2 separate regions of the Homo sapiens genome follow, and region 1 is linked to region 2. Evidence: promoter capture Hi-C in 16 types of primary human blood cells and fetal thymus (Javierre and others, 2016). All regions are on one chromosome and are shown on one strand. Each heading gives the region's core, a stretch centred on a gene start or on the middle of the fragment in contact. The rest is flanking DNA. Distances are from core to core; before and after follow the strand shown.

Region 1 (4,911 bases), core at 952-3,451, 140 kb after region 2:
CATTCCCAGGTCCTGGCCCCTAGACTCTAGGGTGGTTGGTTTCTGGGGCTCTGGTTGTTAGAGCTGTTTATCTGCCGAGGGGAGCAGGAGAGTTATGTGCACCTCCCCCAGCCGATCTCTCCTCTGCTTCTTTACAGCTGCAGAGGTTCATCCAGTGGCTAAAAGAGGCAGAAGAGGAGTCATCTGAAGATGACTGAAGTCACACTGCCTGCTCCTTTGGGTGTGATTGAGTGCCCTCCTGGCTCCTGGGCTGGGACAAGTGAGGAACTAGCTGCAGAGGGATGAGTGACCACCATCCAGGCTGAGACTGAAAGGAGCAGAGGCTGGAACTACAGTATTCTTTCCCCTGCTAGCAACCATGTGCCTCCCATCCTGACTGTGGAGTTGGGATGTGGAAGTGGGGCTGGAACAAAGCTTCTGCCTAGGGAGGAGCTAAGCAGGCCCGGCAGTTGGAGGAAGGCCAGAGGAACAGCTTTGTGCTCCGGCTTTCCCTCAGGGAACAGCAGAGAGCAGTTGGCTCTTTCTGCTGCTTGTATATGTTAATATTAAAAGAGAGAGTGGTGTATTTGGTTTGTCTCCATCCCTGACTAATCAGCCAGTGAAGTATGTGACCAGAATCACATGATAGCCTTTCCTTAACACCTGGGGGAGAGGGAGGACGGGTGTGCCAGCCACTAGGTGGTACTGTGGTACCTTGCTAATTAACCTTTCCCATGGCTCATGGGTAGTGGAGGGCGGAGGTTCTTTTCCAGCCTCTGTGGACCAACTTGTGATCCTGGGGTGGTGTGCCTAAGCCCGTTTCCATAGAGTCCCATTTTGAACACTTTTCTGCCAGAGGATTATGTTGCCAACCATATGTAAAGCCCATTAGACATGCCAGTTCCTTTCACATGCCTTTTCCAGTTGATCTGGTACTCGTTCTGTCAGGAAGCTGGGCCACGCTTCATCAGAAATAAGGAAATCAGCTCAAGGTCACATGACTCTTGAGGGGTAAAGCTAAGGACTTGACCCTCAGAATCCAGAACTCTGTCCTTCAGCGTATTGTGTTTCAGTGAAGGGAAAATTGGCCCCACAGACAAATATAACCCAGAGCCAGTAATGGAGGTCCCAAGAACACAGGAAGGCCATGTGAAGGGTGCTTTCCCTTGAGAGTGTTTACTATGTGACAGGCAAGCAGTTTTCACATATTGTTTCATTTAATCCTCACATGAGCCCCATGAAGTCTTATCCCCATTTTCAGATAAGGTGCCTGAAGCTCACAGAGCTTCCCTAGCTAGTAACTGACAGAGCCAGGTGTGATATTGGACTCTTGACCTGGAGCTTGTTACTTTGCTGTATTGCTTTAACCTTAACCAAAAGAGACATGCCTTTCTGTCTTTTCTTTTTGAGTTCCTTGTCTTCATATAGAGTGAGTCAACAATTCTGGCCGCGTGCAGTGGCTCACGCCTGTAATCCCAGCACCTTGGGAGGCTGAGGCAGGCGGATCACCTGAGGCGAAGAGTTCGAGACCAACATAGCGAAACCCCATCTCTACAAAAATACAAAAATTAGCTGGGCATTGTGGCAGGCGCCTGAAATCCCAGCTACTCAGGAGGCTGAAGCAGGGAGAATTGCTTGAACCTGGGAGGCGGAGGTTGCAGTGAGCCGAGATTGTGCCACTGCACTCCAGCCTTGGTGATGGAGCGAGACCCTGCCTCAAAACAATATAATAATAATAATTTCCTTTAGTGGTACTTAAACGGTGGCTAATGTGACTGTTGTAACAAGTGATGCTCTACCCCCCCATCCCTACCGTCCCAGATGTTACAGAACAAATGGTTGCCTTTATTCATTTTAGTTGGATAGAAAGACATAAACTGGCCTAGGCGCGGTGGCTTACGCCTGTAATCCCAGCACTTTGGGAGGCTGAGGTGGGCAGATCAGCTGAGGTCAGGAGTCTGAGACAAGCCTGGCCAACATGGTGAAACCCTGTCTCTACTAAAAATACAAAAATTAGCCAGGCGTGGTGGTGGGTGCCTGTAATCTCAGCCGCTCGGGAGGCTGAGGCAGGAGAATCGCTTGAACCCAAGAGACGGAGGTTGCAGTGAGCTGAGATCACACTATTGCATTCCAGCCTGGGCGACAAGTGAAACTCTGTCTCAAAAAAAAGGATATAAACTGAGGATGGGCTGACTGAAGTCAGCTTGTGGGTATGAAGGCATCACTGGAAAAGGAAAAGACAGGCTGGCCAGGGTTTGGCTTAATTTTCTAGTAAATCTCAGTTTCTGTCTTGTTAGGTATAGGATCTAGTGTCTAGTATGAAGATTCTGGCATTATGGCATGGACCTAGTACAGTGAGACATCCCTGTATCTGTACTGAATGTATAGCAGAAATCAGAAGTAGTCTACAGAGCTTTTTCAGAAAGAGAGATTACTTCCAGTTAGGGTGATTAGGGAAGGCTTTACAGAAATTTGATGCTGGAGTGGCCTAAAAAATAGAAGAGGCTGGAAGCATGCATTAAAAGCAAAACAAAAACTTTCCAGTTAAATACGGAAAATTAAACACATGAGCCTTTATGCCCCCTCCAAAAATTCTATTGAAATACCAGTAAAGGAATTATTTTAAAAAGGCACGTGCTGGCTGGGCTCAGTGGCTCACACCTGTAATCCCAGCACTTTGGGAGGCCGAGGCAGGTGAATCACCTGAGGTCAGGAGTTCAAGACCACCCTGGCCAACATAGTGGACCCCCGTCTCTATTAAAAATACAAAAAAGCCAGGCGTGGTAGCTTATGCCTGTAATCCCAGCACTTTGGGAGGTCAAGGTGGGTGGATCCCCTGAGGTCAGGAGTTCGAGACCAGCCTGGCCAACATGATGAAACCCCCATCTCTACTAAAAATAGAAAAATTAGCTGGGCCTGGTGGCAGGTGCCTGTAATCCCAGCTACTCAGGAGGCTGAGGAAGGAGAATCGCTTGAATCTGGGAGGTGGAGGTTGCAGTGAGCCGAGATCGCGCCATTGCACTCCAGCCTGGGGGACAAGAGCGAGACTTCATCTCAAAAAAAAAACCAAAAAACACAAAAGTTTAGCCGGGCATGGTGGGGGGCACCTGTAATCCCAGCTACTCAGGAGGCTGAGGAAGGAGAATTGCTTGAACCCAGGAGGCGGAGGTTGCAGTGAGCCGAGATCATGCCATTGCACTCCAACCTGGGTGACAAGAGCGAAACTCTCAAAAAATATAATAATAAAGCCACATGACCCAGTGATAAGGAAAATAGGAGGTGACAATGAATGAGAGATGCCAACATTTTGGAAGATGAAAAACAGAACAGTCAACAGTCACTTAACAGAGTAGAATGAGTTGGGTTCTACCTGCTGAGGGAGTTAATGGCAAGAAGTAAGCCAATGTGCCCTTCTGAACCCATAAAAGGTTCAGCACCTCAGAGGAGGGTATGGACTGACGCTGAGAACTAGGGGTGGGGTGGAAGGAGATTACACGATGATCTGTATAAGAAAAAGCCCCACCAAGTCCCAACCTCATCTGATCCAGCCAAGTGATTACCCCTACTCCCTTGCATAAAATGGGAGATTCCGTCTCTGGAGAAATGGTAGGGAGGAAGTTAGCAAAGATAGACTTAAGGTTTCCTAAGCCCAAAGGTCACAAGTTTCCAGACCAACTGTCCATGAGTGCCCAGCATAATGAATGAAAAAGCCCATGAAATTTCAGAATGTCCAGGGGAACTTAAACTATCAGAGCCTCTGCATTCAGCAGCAGGCATAGTGGGGATAGAGGTGAGGTATTAGATTGAAAATGAAGAATTAAGTGAAAATATATGAGCGGTGAGACTCAACATCAGCACACACTGACAGAACCTCCAGTATGAAAAGAAACAACTGCAGGGAAAAAAATGCCTATGCATACTGACACTGACATTTTTGGTTTCTTCAACAACAAAATGTCAGCTTTCCCCCCACATGATCACCCTACAGTGAAGCCTATTCATTAATAATAAAGCTTGTAAATAGACTGAGCTTCCAATCCACTTTTTGGTATCTCACTGTTAAATATGAATAGACAGCAAAGGACCATTAAACATCTGAGTAACCTTCCAATATGAAAGACCAAAACAAACAAATAGAAAATTGAAACCAAGGAAACAATAACAAAGTAGGGAGCTTTCTGAAAACTTCATGGGGAAAAAGCTACAATAACTATTCTCAAAACTCAAAGAAAAGATATTGTGTCTATGAAGTACTTTAAAAAGGAAGAATTGGAGAAGAAAGAGTTCTTAGAAATTAAAAATAAGTAAACTAATTCCTTCTCTTGAGAATTGGAGGATTCGAGGACCAAATAGCAGGGTAACGTTTCACTGTATTTCCATTCTTACATACTTCTTGAATCTTGAATCATGAATATATTATCTATCCAAAAAAAAAAAAAAAGTAGTAAAGGATCAATCCATAAGGCCCAAAATCATCTACTGGGCTGCGGAAACAGAATAGGAAAAATCGGCTGGACGTGGTGGCTCATGCCTGTAATCCCAGCCCTTTGGGAGGCCAAGGCAGATGGATTGCTTGATGCCAGGAATTTGGGACCAGCTGGGCAACATAGCAAGATCCCATCTCGACAAAAAATTTTAAATTATCAGCCAAGGGTGGTGGTGTGTGCCTGTAGTCCCAGCTACTCGGGAGACTGAGGTGGGAGGATCACTTGTGCCCAGTTCGAGGCTGCAGTGAGCTATGATCACACCACTGCACTCCAGCCAGGAAGACAGAGCAAGACCTTGCCTCCAAAAAAAAAAAAAAAAGGCTGGGTGTGATGTGACTCACACCTGTAATCCCAGCACTTTGGGAGGCCAAGGTTGGCAGAGGATAACTTAAGCCCAGGAGTTTGATACCAGACTGGCCAATGTGGTGAAACCCTGTGTCTATTA
Region 2 (5,184 bases), core at 1,523-4,022:
ACTCAACAGCTATACTACACTGAGAAAAGAATTAACTTGAGCATCAGCTCACTTATCTGTAGCTGTGCTATGTTACTCTCAAGCCGATGATCAGCTAGCAATACAATTCACAAACATATCTCCACCACCACAGTAAAACAGGTATTTGTCTGCAGTTGATAATCTAGCATTACTCCATAATCACCAGGAATTTGAGGGCTTTCAGTTGTTTCATAAGCTAAATTCCAAGGAACTTATTCAAAGTTCCTGTTATGTTGGGTCTAAGATTAACTTTGTTAATAGCATGGTAAGGTTTCAAAGGATTAAACTGAAAATGAATCACAGGGGTAAAACGGGATTTACAGGAAACACTTGGAGCCATTGAGTGAGGGGAGAGAACAGACTTTATTCCATGAGATCTAGAGATTCCCAGCACTGCCTACCTACTAGAATCACCAGAGGAGTTTTAAAACAATACCAATGTCTGGGTTCTATCCCAGAGACTGATTTAATTGGTCTGGAATAGGACCCCAACACTGGTATTTGTTGAACATTCTTCAAGTGATTTTAACATTCAGCCTGGCCTGAAAACCACTGATTTAGAGAGTTGTGAATATTGGTCTTTTGCATTTGACAAAATCCCTTCAACAAGATTTTCAGGCTTTAGCTAAAAAAAAAAAAAAAGGCCAGGTACAGTGGCTCACACCTATAATCCCAGCACTTTGGGAGGCCCAGGCAGGTGGATCACTTGAGGTCAGGACTCGAGACCAGCCTGGCCAACATGGTGAAATCCTGTCTCTACTAAAAATGCAAAAATTAGCCAGGCATGGTGGTGCACACCTGTAATCCCAGGTACTTGGGAGACTGAGGGCAGGAGAATTGCTTGAACCTAGAAGGCAGAGGTTGCAGTGAGCCAAGACCATGCCACTGCACTCCAGCCTGGGTGACAGAGACTCCGTCTCAAAAAAAAAAAAAAAAAAAAAGGCCAAAATATAATTTGTAAATGAAACTTCCTCCAGTGCCTAACACAATGTGTGTTAAATGCTTAGTACAAGGCTTTCTGGGTTCCATCATGTGACCACCATACTGCAGAGCAGACCAGAACTGCTGATCACCGTGAGAAGCAAACACAAAGGTCAGGGGCTGAGTGGTTTGGCTATTTTTCTACTGTGAGACACAACATTTAAGAAAACTAAGTGACTGCTCAATATCATACCTGCATAATACCAAAGAAAAGTAAACAGAAGGTTGTCAAGTTAACAGGATTCTTAAAAAAGCCAAACAATTATAAGCATTTATTGTAACCCATTCTGTGTAGTTTATCTCTAAAAGCCTGAGTGTGTCTATTTCCACCACATAAATATAGATTTCATAATAACATACAAATCCTTTTTAGCGAGATTTGCTTTTGAAAACATATCCTGAACCCTCAGGTCAGGTACAGCTGTCAGTGTCGTGGCGTCTCCTGGGTGGTTCCATGCTCTTTTCAGCAGCCCAGCACACTGGGCCAGAGACAGGCAACAGAGCCATCATGCTTCAAAGAGGAGCCAAGTGCTGTATTCTGAGCCACCGAATTCCAGAAAGAACATCCTTGGGAAGCTCACCCAGCCCCAGCATAGTCTGCCTAGTAAGTGTCTCTCCTGGGCCTCACCTACAGAGAGGTGAGGCTAAATGGGGACTGGGCAAGACGGCCTTTGAGGTTCCATCCATCTTTTAAAGTACACATGTCAGTCTTGCTTTCTACCTCCATGAGCAGGCTTTGGTAAGTGGAAGTTCTCATCTGATATCTAGTAACAATTGATTCTTTGAACAGCTAATTCATAAAATAATCTTAAATAGTTAAAACATATATAACATCTAATTATCTAAATAGGCTAACTCCTTAAAAGGGGGGCAGGGAGGAAAAGGATAAATTTAATTCTGCTCATTAGTGGACTTCAGTGCACCAAATTAACTTCACATTAGTCTGTGAGTTTAATAATGACAGGTTTAACCATTGCAAAGCCTTCTGGAGTCCCTGTTTCTTTGCGTTGACCTTTTTATTTTTGACTAAAAGAGAGGGAAAAACGGTAAGACATTAAAAAAAGCATGAACAGGGAGGGGGGAGGGATAGCATTAGGAGATATACCTAATGTAAATGACGAGTTAATGGGTGCAGCCCACCACCATGGCACACGTATACATATGTAACAAACCTGCACGTTGTGTACATGTACCCTAGAACTTAAAGTATAATAATAACTAAAAAAAAGAAAGCATTAACGGAAACCCACCTAACTGTGGAAACAATATTTCATTGAAAAAGTTTTCATTAACCATTTGTAACTTCCAAGTTATCTTAACCAAATAAAGATTTAGGTACTTAAAAAAAAAAAAAACAGGAAGCTAATTCCAACACTTTTCTTCCCCTTTGACAGAAAGTTCCTTTAACTCATGCCAACAGGCTATATTTATTTCCCTTAAGCAGCACTTCCTAGGAAAGCCGCGGCAGTCTTGCAGCAAACGGCATAAGAGAGCTGATGATCCCGGCAGCAGCCCAACCTCAAGAGCCCCAGCGAGCTGTCAATGCAGTTACCAAGCATGAGAGCCACCTGGGCTCCACACCAATCGCACACTGTTGTTACCTCAGCCGGAGATCTCTGGGCTGCTATTGGAGACCAACACCTGGCACCAGACCAGATACGGTGTCACACCCAGCAGCGCCTAAGAGACTACTGTGCCTCATAAAGCTTTATGGATGCCTACAGGGAGAGAAGAAAAAAAAAAAAAAAAAAAGGCAGGTATTCTTACTTATCTTAACCCTGTCCAGAAAATCTGCTGAGTCACCGAGTATCAATCAAGAGAAAAATAATGCAGAGCTGCAAAATGCTAATCTCCTTCCTCCTGCTCTCCTTCCTAACAGCAAGCCGACTCACAGGTAATACTCTTGACTTGGAAAACACAAGGGCATAGACAAATTCACACGTCCTTAGTCTGTAAAGAAAAGCTTTCAGGAGCAAACTCTAAAAGTACAATGTACTAGACAAAACTATTTTATGAAAACAATGGCTGTCTCTGGGTAGAGGAATTAAGGGTGGTTACTTTTTTTCTACAACTTTACACACTTTGTACATTTTCTATAATGAGCCCATATTTCTTTCCTAACAATACATCTTCGAATCATTTCTGGTAAGAGATTAGACCCACATCTTTGATCCCTAAGATACAACTTGAGCTCACCAAAATATTTCAAAGCATTAATTATGAAAACTCCAACCAAGATTAAAGGGTCAGCCTACCACAGAACTAAGGAAATACTAAGTAAGAGCCCTGGATTTTATGAATACTTGCTTTGTTACCTTTCCTAGACACAGGATATTCTAATTTGGTAGGAAGAAAATCCCACCAATGACACACTTTTGAGAGAAGGGGAAAAAATAACTAAAGTTCATGTGCCAGTAATAATGGTACATGAACTTTAGTTTACTTCTGCTTTTTTTTTTTTTTTTTTTTTTTTGAGACAGAGTCTTGCTGTTCCCCAGGCTGGAGTGCAGTGGTGCGATCTCGGCTCACTGCAAACTCTGGCTCCCGGGTTCAAGCGATTCTCCTGCCTCAGTCTCCCGAGTAGCTGGGACTACAGGTGCATGCCACCATGCCCAGCTAATTTTTTGTATTTTTAGTAGAGGCAGGGTTTCACCATGTTAGCCAGGATGGTCTCAATCTCCTGACCTTGTGATCTGCCCGCCTCGGCCTCCCAAAGTGCTGAGATTACAGGCGTGAGCCACCACGCCCGGCCCACTTCTGCTTATTTTTCCATTCTTCCTTCTTTCCCAGATTAGACATGCTAATGAAAAACAAGGCACCCTTACCTTTGCCTGAGAGCACTAAGAAAACAAACCACCACCACAATAAAATAAAGCTCATAAAAGCATCTGACAAGCTTTGTCTTGCTTTTGCTTAAATATTAATTTAAAGCAATTAAAATCCAAACTCCTTGGCTTATTATTCAAGAACACACATGCCCAGGCGCAGTGGCTCACACCTGTAATCCCAGCACTTTGAGAGGCTGAGGCGGAGGGATCACCTGAGGTCAGGAGTTCAAGACCAGCCTGGCTAACATGGTGAAACCCCATCTCTACTAAAAATACAAACAATTAGCTGGGTGTGGTTGCATGTGCCTGTAATCCCAGCTACTTGGGAGACTGAGAGAGGAGAATCGCTTGAACTTGGGAGGCGGAGGTTGCAGTGAGCCAAGATCGCACCACTGCCCTCTAGCCTGGGCTACAGAGTGAGACTCTACCTCAAAAACAAAAAACAAAAAACAAAAAAACCCCACACATAATGTGAAATTCACTGAGGTATTGCACTATAGCTAAGACTTCACACATTTGATGCTCAATACCAACAAGGACTAGGTATCCCTATCCCACAACTCTTTCTTTTGCCTGGCAAGTTCTTCATTTCTCCAAATTCTATCCATTCCTCAAGTTTCCAGCCAAATGATACCTCCTCCTAAAGAGTTCCCTGAGAGAGAAGCACTTTCTCCTTTTACTAATTCCCACAGCATCTAAATTACAGTCATCTATGTAGAGTACGTGTTGTGAGTTTAAGCTTCTATTGGTGGACAAGCAGGCCCAGCACCAATTTATCTTTATCTGCACCAGACCACTCGGTTCAGTGCTGTGCATGCATCTTGAAGAGTGTTCAAATATTTGCTAAATTTAAAAAAATGAATAAACACTGACTGCATCTTAAAAAAAAATCAGGGCTCGTGGAGTCATATGATCTACATGTGCATATATAAATAGGATTAAAAAAAGGAACCATGCCTGAATAATCATGCCTCAGGCAAAGGAACAGTGTTTAGGAGCAGCCTAGGTATAAAACTTCATGTTAGCTGAAGTAACGCCAGCCTAATGCCAGCCAAAGTTAGTACTCAGGCTCAAAGAACTAACAGCAACAGAAACCACCACTTTATTAACACTTCAGGATTAAAGGATGCCTGCTAAGCCTCAAATTGTGTGTGGCCACAAGCATTAACATTACAGTCCCGAAGAAAGTGGGTAGATGTGCGAATGCTTTATTTCAACCCTAATTATTTCTAAGCATACGTGAGAAATTATAAATATTTGAAGATGTGACTAATAGAGCAATTTTTCCAAGTCATATTCCAAAAGAATGATTTGGTCACAATACTGAGAAATGGGCAAACCATGTAATCTGCAT

The links. The method cuts DNA at HindIII sites, captures the fragments that hold promoters and counts their contacts. A CHiCAGO score of 5 or more calls a contact.
Region 1: a contact is called between a fragment that was not itself captured here and the fragment with the promoter of ABCC5-AS1 in region 2, in 1 of 17 cell types (erythroblasts). The highest score is 5.2, in erythroblasts.

Annotation. Positions count from the first base shown.
Region 1 is chr3:184,144,747-184,149,657 of GRCh38, forward strand. It overlaps EIF2B5 (eukaryotic translation initiation factor 2B subunit epsilon), which reads left to right. Exons shown (of 16, transcript NM_003907.3): 16 at 138-565. The coding sequence ends at 197. Among named protein-coding and RNA genes, the nearest start is that of DVL3, 8.2 kb to the right of the region's middle. RefSeq lists a silencer at 596-645. The HindIII fragment of the contact is 3,578 bases long and covers 413-3,990 here.
Region 2 is chr3:184,003,566-184,008,749 of GRCh38, forward strand. ABCC5-AS1 (ABCC5 antisense RNA 1) reads left to right here and starts at 2,773. Exons shown (of 3, transcript NR_046570.1): 1 at 2,773-2,896. The region is part of intron 2 of ABCC5 (ATP binding cassette subfamily C member 5); the gene reads right to left. It overlaps LOC124909468 (a long non-coding RNA gene), which reads right to left. Exons shown (of 2, transcript XR_007096191.1): 2 at 4,910-5,184. RefSeq lists a silencer at 3,452-3,501. The HindIII fragment of the contact is 257 bases long and covers 2,707-2,963 here.